3 separate regions of the Homo sapiens genome follow, and regions 1 and 2 are each linked to region 3. The links are contacts of gene promoters, found by promoter capture Hi-C in human tissues and cell types (Jung and others, 2019). All regions are on one chromosome and are shown on one strand. Each heading gives the region's core, a stretch centred on a gene start or on the middle of the fragment in contact. The rest is flanking DNA. Distances are from core to core; before and after follow the strand shown.

Region 1 (4,538 bases), core at 712-3,211, 64 kb after region 3:
GCAGAAGGCAGAAGGGCAAAGAGACTAAAAGGGGGCCAAACTTGTCCTTTTTTAATGGCATTAATCCACCCAGGAGGGCAAAGCCCTCATAGCCTAATCACCTCTCAAAGGTATCACCTCTTAATACTGTGGATAGCAGTTAAATGTCAACACGTGTTTTGGAGGGGACAAACATTGAAACCATAGCACTGACTTTCAATAAACATATGTAATATGTTCAGAGTGGAACTCATTATTCATTCAGATCCCTGAGTTCACCAGTAGCAGATCTCTGTTACTCCATTCTCACATACAATGGAGTGCTTGCAGTCACTCAAACACAGGTTTCTTTATTTTATTTTATTTTATTTTATTTTATTTTAAATGGAGTTTTGCTCTTGTTGCCCAGGCTGGAGTGCAGTGGTGCGATCTCAGCTCACTGCAATCTCCACCTCCAGGCTTCAACCAATTCTCCTGCCTGAGCCTCCTGCGTAGCTGGGATTATGGGCGTGTGCCACCACACCCAGCTAATTTTGTATTTCTAGTAGAGATGGGGTTTCAACAAGTTGGTCAGGCTGGTCTCGAACTCCCGACCTCAGGTGATCCACCCACCTTGGCCTCTCAAAATGCTGGGATTGCAGGCATGAGGTACTGTGCCTGGCCCACATGGGGGTTATTGTTGTTGTTTTTTGGCGGGTTTCATGTTTGTTCATTTATTTTTGCCTTCTTGATTTTACTTGACTTTCTTGTTTTCTAAAATGATCACCTCCCTTCAGTCTCTGCTTGTCAAAATGCTACCTATCTTACTAGTATGTGACCAAGGACCAGTCATTACATTTCTCTGAATCTTAGTTTGTGGAAGGAGGATACCCAACTAAGATATGGTAGACTCTCTCCCTCTCTCTCTCTCTCTCTCTCTCTCTCTCTCTCTCTCTATATATATATATATATATATATATATATATATATTCACATATATTCTTCAAATATATACAAGCTTCACTCATATATATATATGTGTGTGTGTATATATATATATATATATCTATATACCTCATTTTTAAAAACTACTATTACTATTTTATGACTATACCTTAATTTACTTAGGCAGTGCAGTTGATGGAAATTTCATATACAATAATTCAGAAAGATCTTAGTTTCATGAATCTCTATTCACTGAGCAAGTTGCCTGCTTTCCTCCTTTCAGACTTGGGGTTTAAATACTGTGTCTAATGTCATTTAGTGGTTCAGTGGGGGCACATGCCCAGATATGCTCCATCAATAGCTTAGTCCAGTCTCTCAGTTATGACATCTTTTTCTGGTGGCAAACATTCTCTAAGATTCTATTGGCAGTAGCTACCTCAGATAGGAAATACCAAGTTCTTAGGCTTAGTTAAAAAAAGTTACTTGTTCATTAATAGACTCGGCCGTGGTATAGGATTCATATAGACTATACCCCTTGCTTTGCCTAGGTAAATGGTTATTTATTTTCCTTTCTTTTTTTTTTCGAGATGGAGTCTCACTCTGTCACCCAGGCGGGAGTGCAGTGGTGCAATTGTGGCTCACTGCAAGCTCCGCCTCCCGGGTTCACGCCATTCTCCTGCCTCAGCCTCCCAAGTAGCTGGGACTACAGGTGCCCGCCACCACGCCCGGCTAATTTTTTGTATTTTTAGTAAAGATGGGGTTTCTCCATGTTAGCCAGGATTGTCTCGATCTCCTGGCCTCGTGATCCGCCTGCCTTGGCCTCCCAAAGTGCTGGGATTACAGGCGTGAGCCACCGCGCCCGGCCGGTAAATGGTTATTTCTTAATTTTCCATGCTCCTTATGGTAACTTCAACACTGCTTCTTTATATATCTAATTTGAAGCCCAATCTTTTTATCCAATTTCCATTTGGATCATTCATAGCCTTTTTCTCTCCTGCATCCCCCACCAACCAACCTGCATTTCTTCTTTGATGTGTTACATAACTTCTTGGAGTATATACCAACCTCATTGAAAAAAGTAAATATTCAGCTCAGAAAAAAAGTGTTAAGAAAATAAAAAAAGCCAGAGTGTGCAAAGATTAGTGACTATTAACTGTTGCATGTTGAGATTCTAGGGAAGAAGACTCTGAGATGGGATTTGGCATGCAAGAGGTTTATTAAGGAGTACCCTTGGGATCAACATTTGTGAATGGGGTGGGAAGGAATGGCAAGAAGGAGAAGATAAGCTGTGATGCAGAACCAACCACAGCCTCAGCCAACCTCTCAGCCAGCTCTGGATCTAGACTGGTCCTTCAGAGTTGTCCCATATTAGGCTGAGGGAGCTAGACCTTCATCCTCCCCCACTGGTCAGTCATTGGATGTGGGCTGTTTCTGGAAGGCAAAGTGTCTCTCTGCCACAGAGACAATCCCCGAATGGGTCACTAATTGAAAGCTCTCTGCTGCCAACACTCCCAGAAGCTGGGGCAAACCCTTTGTTGCAGGGTCATCTAGGTGGTGCCTCACAATGTCCACCACTGAGAACAGGACAGGGCATTGGTGACTGTAGTCCAACCCTTTCTTATAAGTGCAGGGAGAAAAAGACAATTCCATTGGTTCCAGGGTTCTATTCTCTCCCTGCCATTCTACATGTGTTGGAAACAGTGGTTTTAAAGGTCCTAATGTATTTTTCTTCCTTTTCATTATCCTTTAGGATTTTGATACAGCCTTTGCTTGCTTCTGCTTTTGATGTCCTTGGCATAATCTTTTAAGGAAATGTCCTCTTTATTTAAAATTTTTGCTGCTATGACAATCAGTGTATCCTCTGCATTATAATTGCTCTAAATATGTTCTAAGCATTCCTTTCTCTCTAGTTCTGAGGGGATAATATGCTTCCAAATATGAGTTTGTTTAATAAAATTTGGGCTTCTCTGTGTGGCACGCTGCCGCTGAGCATATAATTGCTTTTTCTTTTCTTTGAAGAAGCTACTGTTAGAGGGAGCTACCCCCACTTCTTTTTTCATCCCAGAGATCGTTTCCATACAGCCCACTCAATATTGCCTGGCAGCATGGGGTACAAGAATAGCAAGGAGAATTGAAACCCACAGAAGAGCTGCAGCCTCCTCCCTTTGTGTACTTGTGAGCTGAGCTGCTAACAAGTGGTAGAATCGATTCATTTGAATTTCAACTTCCTTCATTTCCTCTGTCTTCCCTCTGGTGCTGGTGATAATGAGCAATGAAAATGACCCAGGACTGAGGAGACAGATGGAATGGGAAGAGTATCAAGGGTTGAGATAATCCATAGTTTGAATAAGAATTAGCCTTGGCTCCTCTGCCTCCTGCAGCTTTATCTCATCCCACAGCAGCCACTGGACAGAACCACCAAACAAGGAGATGCTTCACAAGTAGCCTCTGGGAAGACTTTTGTCAGATTCCTCCTTGCTTTGGTGACATAAAGACACCTCATTGAAGCTTCCATCTTGGTTACATCAGAAGGAGGCTCAGGTATCCCTGGTGCACATGGGAGGACATAACATGGAAGTTTTATAATAACAGATTAATAGAAAAGGGACGAACCTATAAAGATATATCCAGATGTGAACCCATGAATTACGTTGAGTAAAAAATAATTAAAATACATCCACAGCTCTTTCTAAATATCTAGGCATCCATATTTTTCTGGTCAGCAGAAAAGAATGTTCCCTTACAGAGAAGAGCAGGCACACATTTTAAATAAAGAACCGCAGAAAGAATAATATTTGCTACTGCTTTGTGCCAAGGTTGAAAGTTCGACTTGGTCAGGGAATATTTGCCAGCACCAATAAAAAATAATGACTGTTCCCATCTGTATTAGCCTATTCCTAGATTTCTATAAAAAATACCTGAGACTGGGTCATTTATAACGAAAAGAAGTTTAATTTGCTCATGGTTCTTTAGGCTGTACAGGAAGCATGATGCTGGCATCTGCTCAGCTTCTGGGGAGGCCTCAGGAAACTTTCAATCATGGCACAAAGCAAAGGGGAATCAGGCATATCTTACATGGCCAGAGCAGGAAGAAGGAGAGGGAGATGCCACACACTTTTCAACAACCAGATCTCATGAGAACTCATCATCATGAGAACAGCACCAAGGGGATGGTGCTAAACCATTCACGAAAGATCCTCCCCCGTGTTCCAATCACCTCCCACCAGGCCCCACCTCCAACATTGAGGATTACAATTGAAAATGAGATTTGAGTGGGGACACAGATCCAGATCATATCACCATCTCACCCCCATAATCCCTGGCTAGAGTACAGTTTTTAACCACTTTGATTTGTGGCTGTAGAATGGCAAGCACAGCATTTCCACAAATAATTGTTGGTCACTTGTAAACAGATGTGCCTAGATTCCCAAACAGATAAGAATCTACTACCTGCAAAGGAGAAGAATCAGCTTTTAACGTCACCAAGGCCTCAGTTATCCCATAATAGGATGAGTGCCACTTTCCACAGGTGGAGAGACCTCAGTGTCTGCAGACCTGCGATGTTTCCTAGACTCCAGGGAGTTCCAGCAGCTGAGCATGAGGAGCCCTTATAGACTCTCAGACACTCCATCTCC
Region 2 (4,293 bases), core at 903-3,402, 34 kb before region 3:
AAAGTAAGCTTATTTAGTTTAAAAGAAGGTGAGTCCATTTAAAGACCATATTAAGTAAATGGTTAAAGAAGAGATACTGCAATACTCAGATATGGCAAAAATTGTGAAGCTGATACTGAGTGGCTGAAGTTTGGAAAGCCCTAACTTTAGGGGTTACAGTCTGTGCTACTTAACATGGCATTTGAGGACTTCAGCATACGTTCCCACTTCTCCATCTGGTGACATTGATGACCACCTTGTCCTCTCACTGTATCATGTCACTGTGCTGAGTGACACATGCTAGAGTGAATGCCTAGAGTCCTTCCCTCCTCCTCACCTACCTGTAACTTCCAATTCTTTGAGTATCAGTTTTTTTTTTGTTGTTCCTCCAAGAAATCTCCTGACATCCCAGCCCCATTGGCTATGAGAGTTGACTTTTCTGGATTCACTTATTCTTAGTCTACTATATGTCAAATCCACCCACACCTCTCAACGTGCTCCCATGGGGCATTTAGTTTAGTGTGGCTGCAACCCCTGTAAAGGAATGATGTGCCATTCTCCGTATATATAATATCTAAGTAATCTCCATAATAATAGTACTAGAAAGGAGGACTGTGACGCTAATATCACAGATATGAGAATACTGAGGCACAGAGATTAACTTTCTCAAGGCCATAGAACTACAAATGGATAGTACCCAACTATGCCAAGGGAGAAGGCAGGGGAGCAGGATACTTTTTGGATAGGTGCTGTTGGTTCAAGCACACTTAAATGTAAATGCATCTGGATGTCACCATCTTGACTATTTGCCACTATACAGAGGAATGCAAAGGCATCAGAGACTGTGACTGCAGCCAGCAGTGCCCAAAACCCTTCTCCCTTGTGCCTGTGAGGCAGAGATGACACAGTCTCTGAGTGCACATGGTCCCAGTCCCTGACAGGAAGCAACTGTGATACTTGTGGGAGACTCAACAGCAAAGACATTGACTAGTGCCTATGAACATTGCTGCTGGATACTGCAGGGGGCAGGATGGGAGAAGCAGATTACATTTCCTTCATACTTTAAAATAATTTAATTATTTCTCATGCAGTCTAAATGCTCACTGCTTTAGACTAGCAGTGTGTTTTTATTTCATTTCATTTGCACTATCTAATTTCTGCTTACATCCACCCTGAGATAGCTGGCCTTTTCATATAAAGTAAGGCATGCTTTCTTAGTCTACAGTTAAGAAAACTGAAGTTCAGAGAAGCTAAACATTTTGTCCAAGATCGCACAACTGCTTAATTCTAAGAGCTGAGACTTGAATCTGAACTGCTAGTCCCGAAACCAATGCTTTTCCTATAATGCCATGTGTGTTCCCATAAGGAAGAGGTCAGAGTTGTGTTGTTTTGGATTCACATTACCTCTGAAAGTGACATACCAGCTGGCTGGGGATTATTTCTAGTCTAAAATGGTGTGGGAAAAGAAAAGGATCACTTACAACAAATCCTAGGCTTGATGTTTTCATGAACCACAGTTCAGCAAAACATTCTGTGGAATGGTTGTGTCCAGATTGGCATTGCTGTGAGACATCATCAGTGCTGCCACGGAGAGCCAGAAAAAAAATCCTTCCTGGTACGGCTAGGCACCCTCTCTGCTTTGTGACCCATCAGTCGGGTCTAAGGTTCAACTCCTTCCTAATTTCTCTTCTGCTGTTCGTCTCCCGCTAACAAGTTCTATCTCAACAGCTAGGGCACTAGCAATCTCTAGAGTCTCAGCAGCTGGGTTCTGTGCCCCTGTCTTCAGACAGTGATGCAGAAACTAAGCATCAACCATGGCAAAAGGCTGGTAGAGATATAATGTCTACTGTTTATCATGCAGTGTAGAACACGGAGCCATTCCCTCAGCCCTTTCCTCCCTCTGCCTCAAAGATGGGTTTGCATTTCCATTTGGTTGAGGGAACAGATGACCTTCCTTGAATGTGTCCATATCCAGCTTTATCTTCTATCAAACACCCATGCTTTACTCTCACAAGACACTTTTATATTCTTCCAGGGGGCTCATGACACTCATGCCCTCCTGACCTTTAACATTTCTTCATCTAGAACGACCTGACTTATCCGTTCCATGTCTAAAAACTGTGCCTATCTTTAACACTCAACTCAAATACCACCTCTCTTGGGATGTTCTCACTGTTTCCTCCTCTATTCCTCCTTTGACACTCTATAACTCCTTAGTTCTTATACCCCATATCACAGAAGTTACGAGCACTTGCTTTAGAGTCATAGAGTCAGGCTCAAAACCAGTACCTCCAATTACTAATAATAACACTAAGAAACCCATCAATTGCTCGGAATATTTCTTCACTCATCTTAAAATAGGAATAATAATAAGATCCTCTTCGGGAGACTGGTTAGGAGCTAAATGACATGGAATGATAACATACATTTATCATAATGCCACAATGTAGATAAAATACTATAGTAATTTGTTTTACTTCTTTTGCTACAAATAAGATTTCCTACTCCATACTTTGCAGAGCAGTTACTTGGATACATGCCATACACTGATTGCAGTGGGTTCAGTCTCTAGGCCTTACAAAAGGATTGAGTGGGGAAGGGAAGAAATAATAAGGATATGAAGATTGAAGCAAGTACATGTTTTTATTTGCCATTTTCTGCACAACAGAAAACTACTGTAGACTCAACAATGTGCTCCTGCTCTTCCAGGTTGCAGTCAGTTAATCCAGAATATCTGTGAATTTATTAGTACAGCTGCTTCCTCCTCAAGGCCCCTGATACTGTGAAGAATCTGGAATTCCTGATTCCTGCCAAAAAAAGAATACTGCCTGCCAAAGAGGTTGCAACTCTGGATTTTCCCAGTGGGAAGCCATAAAGATTCCTCACCTCATTTCTTAGCGCACTCTCAAAACTAGCATCTTAAGACTTTCCCGTTCATAGGCCCTAATTTTAATTCCCAAGACCCAGAAACATACCTGAGAGGTGTTGTCTAGGAGACATTCCAGTGGAAAATGTTAGTCTCTCTGTAGATAACTAGTACTTACATAGAACTCACTATGTGCTAAGTACTTTCTTTTAAAGGACTTTAAAGAGACTAACTCATTTAATTCTCATAGTGATCATAAAGGGTATTGCTATTGTAATCCTCATTTTACAAATGAGGAAACTGAGGCATCAAGAAGCTAACTTACCCAAGATTGCACAGTTAAAAAGCAGTCGAGCTGGGACTCAAACTCTAATCGTACCTCTGAGCCATGCCCCATTAATAAAATAGGCAGACAGCTGGAAAGTCATTTATACAGATACAAATTTAAATACTGATTTAAACTCTCTCCTTGAGACTCACATACACTACCACTTTCCCTAGCACTTGTCCCATCCTCTTCCCCAAACTAATTTAGATGCTGCTTCTTTATTTTTCTCTTATCCTTCTGGATCCACCTCAATCCTGATCCCCCCACCCCTACCCAAGACTGTGGGCCCTGAAGAACAGATAACATTTTTATTAATCTTTGCCACACCATTGTCTAGCGAAATGCCTGACACAGCAATATTTAGTGAATAAATGAATAAATGATTGAGGCTATATCTGTCTATTAAATCTATGGGAATCAATCTATACTGTTCCATTTCTGGAAAGTAGGGACAGTGCTTTTTATTTTTTTATACCCTCCTAAATGCTTAGTAGCTGTCTCATAATAAAGGCTCCCTGAGTGCTGGTTGAAAGAATAAATGAATAAACAACCCTTTTCTGGAAGTCCTGGTAAATCTTGCCCCTGCCTCTTTCTCTGTTCTGTGTCTCTCTAATGCTTTAGCCCCCACAGGCTTCATCTGTGTAGCTTATTCATGTTTAAAAATGAAGATGACACTCTACTGTCTTAGAAATATTCTAGACTCCAACTGCTATTTTTAAGAGGGACAAGTGCAATTGCGGTTACAGATCTATGTGAGGAACAGCAGGAGTTTATCATTTGTTGGTGCTGTGGAATAATTCCAACATTTATGGTTCATTTCTCCCTTTCTCCTCCCATCGTGTTTTCTCAGTTCCCAAGCTTGATAATGTCCTGCCATGTTATGAGAAAAATAGTACTAAATCTGATGGCGAGTCTGTGTTTGGGGAGTCTGGAAACACATTCTCTCTCTCTTTCTCTCTCTCTCTCTTTCTCTTCTCATCAAAAATGGCAGAGGTGGGGGCCGGGGTGTCCTGAGAGTAGTTAACTACCCTCACCATATTGTATCCAATCTATGTCATTGGGGGCACTATAGAGGATCCAAAAATAATTAATTTAATGTAGCCCTTCTCTTTCTCTTTTT
Region 3 (4,508 bases), core at 119-2,618:
CAGCTGAACATACATGTCTTGCTCTAGGCAGTTGCTTAGCAGTTTGGTTTTCTTTTGCTTTTGGGAATTCAGGAAACAGAGGTGGGTGGTCAGTGGGAGAAGGTTGATTGTCTAGAGACCAAAATGAATTAAATACTTTATTACCTTTCCAGTAAAGGGGCTGTGAGTCTAACTGTATGTGTGGTTCCCTCCACCACACCCTAAATCAAAAGTTCCATCCCTGGAGTCTCTTTAATTCTAGAGACACTGAGATTTAGCTCATACAGAAGGAGAAAATGACCTTCAACTGGATAAGCTTTCCTTGAGTACCCATTAGATACAAAACACTGCTGGATGTTGCAGTGAGAACAAACAAACAAAAAGCACAGGGAATACTCATATGTGAGTGAAGAGATAAATCTATAAATATATAAGTTCCGCAAGTGATTGGCAAATAAAATTCTGAGAGGGCAAAGAGAGGGGAAAGATTTCTGCCTCGAGTCAGAGGACTGGGGTAGCGGAAAAAAGCTTTAGAAAAAAAGGTGGTATTTGTAGAGTCTGGAGAGGCGGGTTCCTCTGCCCCAAACTGGTGTCTACTGCAGATATGGTAAATAATTAAAATCATGAAATAAGAACATCACTAAAACCATTAATTTGACTTACTCTTAAAACACACGCGCGCACGCGAGCGCGCTCGCACACACACACACTGGCGTGCGCGCGCTTTTTTAAGGGGCCTATAGACTCCATTTCGGCTGCAGGTTAAAGTCATCCCAGGAAGGAGAAAGGAAAATTGAATTCCACCTTCTTCTGATTTAGAAAGCTAGATTGGTTGAGGATCGGGATCAGGGACCACAACTCAACCCCGAAACTTTGGGCTTCCAGAACTGCAGGGGAAACTGATTCTGAGATCAGACAACGGACCCTGGGGCGGGAGGGGGGTACCTTATTCATAACCCTCCCTCACAATAGCGGAGCACAGTACTCAGCACCCAGTAAACACTCATTTGTCGAATTGATTTTAAGCCTCCGCTTTTCCCCCAAGGAGGGCAATCAATCCCTTGCACGTTTTGCTCCTTTCACCAGCTTAATTCAGCTCTGATCTCAGTAGTTAGAAAAATAGGAGAAAGAATGGGGCCATAGCCTGCTGCAAGTAGAGCTGTGTAAGGGGGTGCGAGGAAGGCAGGCGAGAGCAGCAGAGGGAGTTAATACTCCTACCTCAGCTGGTCTCCGGCAGCCAACGCTCAGCCCCCGCCTCCTCTCTCCATTCCGGACCCCGCAACCGCGAGGCGAGAGAGCAGCGCCGGCGAGGCACTGGCTGGGCTCTGACTGTCACGTTAATTCCCTGCTGCTTTTTCTAGTCCCCAGCCGCCTCGCCCCTCCTCCCTCATTCCCAGCCTGGGTTTGGAGGCGATTTCCCTCTATTGACTGAGCCGACTGCATCTCTGGGCAAGCGGCGCTTTGCCTCTCTCCTGTCTTTGTCTGCTCTTCCTGCAAGGCTACGGCGCCTGGAGCAGGGTCTGCAGCGGCCGCCGCAGCAACGCGAGCCAAGTCGTGCCCCGCACGGCCGCCCGGGGCCGCACCCTCGCTCGGTGGCGGCGCCCGAAGACGCCAGCCGCGCCACGCACTGCCTGCGTCCCGCGCCCCAGCCGCCGCGCACCAACGCCGCCGCCTTCGCCGGGAGCCAAGCCCGCCGGGCCGGCCCGGTCCCAGGTGGGCAGCTCGGCTTGCAGCTGGTTGGAGGTGGCGGCCGCTGCAGCCCTGGCAGCGGGCACACCCCTAAGCATACGCACCCAACGCCTCCTCCCTGAGCCACGAGGATGGAGCAGCCACCCCGGCCCGGGACTGGCGCAAGGTAAGGTGCAGCCGCCTGTTGCTTTTCGCAGAGCGCGGGATCATCCCTCTGCCCGGGTACCTAGGCCGTCCCTCCAAGGAACAAGTAGAGGAGAACTATTACACCAGTTCTAAGCCGTGCCTGTCTAAGCCTCCCTGATCCCTTTTGCGCAGACCCTGGGAGAGACCTCCTCCTGGAGAGAGAGAGTCGACCCTCTTCGCTCCTGTTCAGCCGGCTGCTATACAATAGTCTGCAAACTTTTGTGACCCCTTCCCTGCGCGGTGCTCACCCCGTGCTGTGCAACTTGCAGGTTTAGTTCTTGCCCTTCCCCCAGCCCCTCTTGCCATATGCATCTGCCCATTTCTCTCTGTGTGTTCTTGCCAGTCGACTTTTCACTCCCCGCAGCTCTGGCTCCTGAGGCGAGGGTTTGGGACCCAGCAGTGCTCGTCCTGCCTCTAGGAGCTGGGTAGGGACAGAGAAGGTGAAATAAGAGAGGTGGGACATGGAGGATGGCTGCGGCCACCCCTGAAGCTTCGTCCAGCGCGATGGGAGTCAGTCCATCCTTGCACACGCCACCCCCAACTCGGCAATGAAACCTTTGGAGTGGCTTGCGGCTGTGCGCCGTGGGAACTGCAAGTGCAGATATGGGTGGGTGAAGTAAGTGGCTCAGGGAGGGAAAGGCTGCTCGTGCGGTGGAGGAGGAAGCTGAGGGTCGGGTAGATCTGCCCACGGTTGAGGGAAATGAAAAGGTACTGCTAATGTGGGCGAGCGGCCAGCCCTGAGAGGCCATCTGACGAAGAGGAAAAGGGATTTGAGTCCGGAGGGCGCTGGCCTGGGTATGTAAATACAGATGGGGGAGGGGCTGGGTACCTGGGGGCGCGTGGAGACAAGGAATGGAGCCCCGGAATGCCGGGCCCTTGGGTACTTGGGAAGGCAGGCTGCTGAGTGCCTGGGATGGGGCGATCTTCCTCCCCAGAAGCAAACAAACCTCCCCGCGAGAATCTGAATGCGTTGGCATCTTGGGTGGTGACTGAATGGTCAGATCGTGGACTAGGGATGCTTCTCCAAGCTCTAAGAGGACCATAGTCTGCTCTCTTCTCTGGCACCCGCTTGCTTCTACGCTCCTTCACCTCTGCAGCCAGGTCGGTAGACCCACGCCCACCTTCCCTGCCAGGCACTCAGGAGTCAAGGATGTTTCCACAGCCGCAGTGTAGGAAGGGGACTCCTGCCTCCCAGGGGGAGACGTGTGTGCGGGGTAGAGGGGAGTCCCCAGCGCGCGGCGAGTAAACAGGGGTCCAAAGTGGTTGGAGGAGAGCGCAGGAGCGGAGGCTGCGGTGGGAGCCACTTTCCCCCGCCCCTCCACAAATCGCACCTGGGCGGAGCGAGGGAGTGGGGGGAGCCCTGTGCTGCGCCCGGGAGGCTGGGGAGCGCAGAGCTGGAGGGCGTGCAGGGAAACGCAGAGCTAGGAGGTGTGGGCCTCGGGTGAGGGGAGACCCAGCTCTTAGACCTGGGAGCCCAGACAGAGGTGGATCTGCCCACCTTGCAGCTCCCAGGTAGATTCTTCTTGTGGCTCCAGATGCTCTGGCGAATGCAGGAGGGGGAGGCTCTTTTCTCCTTTGCACCCCAGCAATCTGGAGTGCAAGACCGTTTGCGGGAGGGGGCTTAGTCGGCTGTTTCGAAGAGGCAGCCTCCCCTCCCTTTTATCCATCAAGCCCCCTATTTCCTGGTGGGGGCACAGTGACTGCCAAGGCCAGTAAGCACCTCACTTAACCCTTCTCTCCCTGAGGAGGTGCATGCTCCTCTCCCAGAGGTGCCTTTGGCTGAGAGTGGATCCCTGGTTCCTAGTAGCCCTATAGGGAAACATTTGGAGGTTGGGTGGGTTTGGAACCCTGTACAACCTTTAGGTCCTCCCTGTTCAGACCTTCCACGTGCAGGCTTTTCTTACTTTCTCCGCGGGTGCCCTACAGAGGACTCCTGCTGCCTTGTACCAGTTGGGAAAAAGCAAAATTCAGAGCAGTTCCTTTTTCTGGGTCCCTCGCCTTGGCCACATCGGAGGAAACGTCGACTCGCCAGGGCTCCCGGGAGAAATCCCGAGGTCAGTCCCTCCCATTCTGGGGCACCCCTGGAGCAGCTAGCTCCCTGCCTAGCGGTGGCAAACTCCAGAGCCCCAAGGAGCAGAACGGGGATTCCCTGTGCGCAGGCTCCTGGTGCAGCTCCTGAGCACAAAGGCCACACCCTCACAGACCAGGCCTGGTGAGAGAGCCGGGCTTCTTCAGAAGTACCTGGATACCTGAGGTAGGATCCTAGACTTGAAACTCGCACTCCACGAGATTTAGCTCTGACCCCCCCAAGGCTCATTTCTTTCTGGGTGCTTATCTATCGCCTGAATTTGCGCTCTGGCCACTTCTTTTTGCATGTAGAAACAAATTAGACCATGTTCCTTGGCAACTTGAGGAAAGACTCCAAATCCACACCAAGGTGGATTTATTTCAGGTTGCTGAACTGTTCTGGGGAGACAAATAGTAATGTAACAATCAGTGCTAGCTAGCAGTTGTGGAGTTCTTACTATGTGCCAGACACTATCTTTGATGTTGTGTGTGTTTGTGTTAGATTTAACCCTCACAACAACCCTGAAAAATGGGTAGAGTTATTTATCTCATGTTATAGATGGAGAAACCCAGTATTGAAGAATTCA

What was found. The method cuts DNA at HindIII sites, captures the fragments that hold promoters and counts their contacts. A contact is called where the count stands out against the background at its distance.
Region 1: a contact is called between a fragment that was not itself captured here and the fragment with the promoter of LRRC3B in region 3, in 2 of the 25 tissues and cell types used here (aorta and dorsolateral prefrontal cortex).
Region 2: a contact is called between a fragment that was not itself captured here and the fragment with the promoter of LRRC3B in region 3, in 2 of the 25 tissues and cell types used here (spleen and thymus).

What each region holds. Positions count from the first base shown.
Region 1 is chr3:26,684,611-26,689,148 of GRCh38, forward strand. All of the region lies in intron 1 of LRRC3B (leucine rich repeat containing 3B), which reads left to right. Among named protein-coding and RNA genes, the nearest start is that of LRRC3B, 64 kb to the left of the region's middle. RefSeq lists a silencer at 1,587-1,795. The HindIII fragment of the contact is 4,428 bases long and covers 1-4,175 here.
Region 2 is chr3:26,586,357-26,590,649 of GRCh38, forward strand. No RefSeq gene overlaps it. Among named protein-coding and RNA genes, the nearest start is that of LRRC3B-AS1, 34 kb to the right of the region's middle. The HindIII fragment of the contact is 5,892 bases long and covers 1-4,293 here.
Region 3 is chr3:26,621,404-26,625,911 of GRCh38, forward strand. It overlaps LRRC3B (leucine rich repeat containing 3B), which reads left to right and starts at 1,369. Exons shown (of 2, transcript NM_052953.4): 1 at 1,369-1,834. It overlaps LRRC3B-AS1 (LRRC3B antisense RNA 1), which reads right to left and starts at 1,360. Exons shown (of 4, transcript NR_183726.1): 1 at 1,198-1,360. RefSeq lists enhancers at 703-1,218, 2,811-3,780. The HindIII fragment of the contact is 7,905 bases long and covers 1-4,508 here.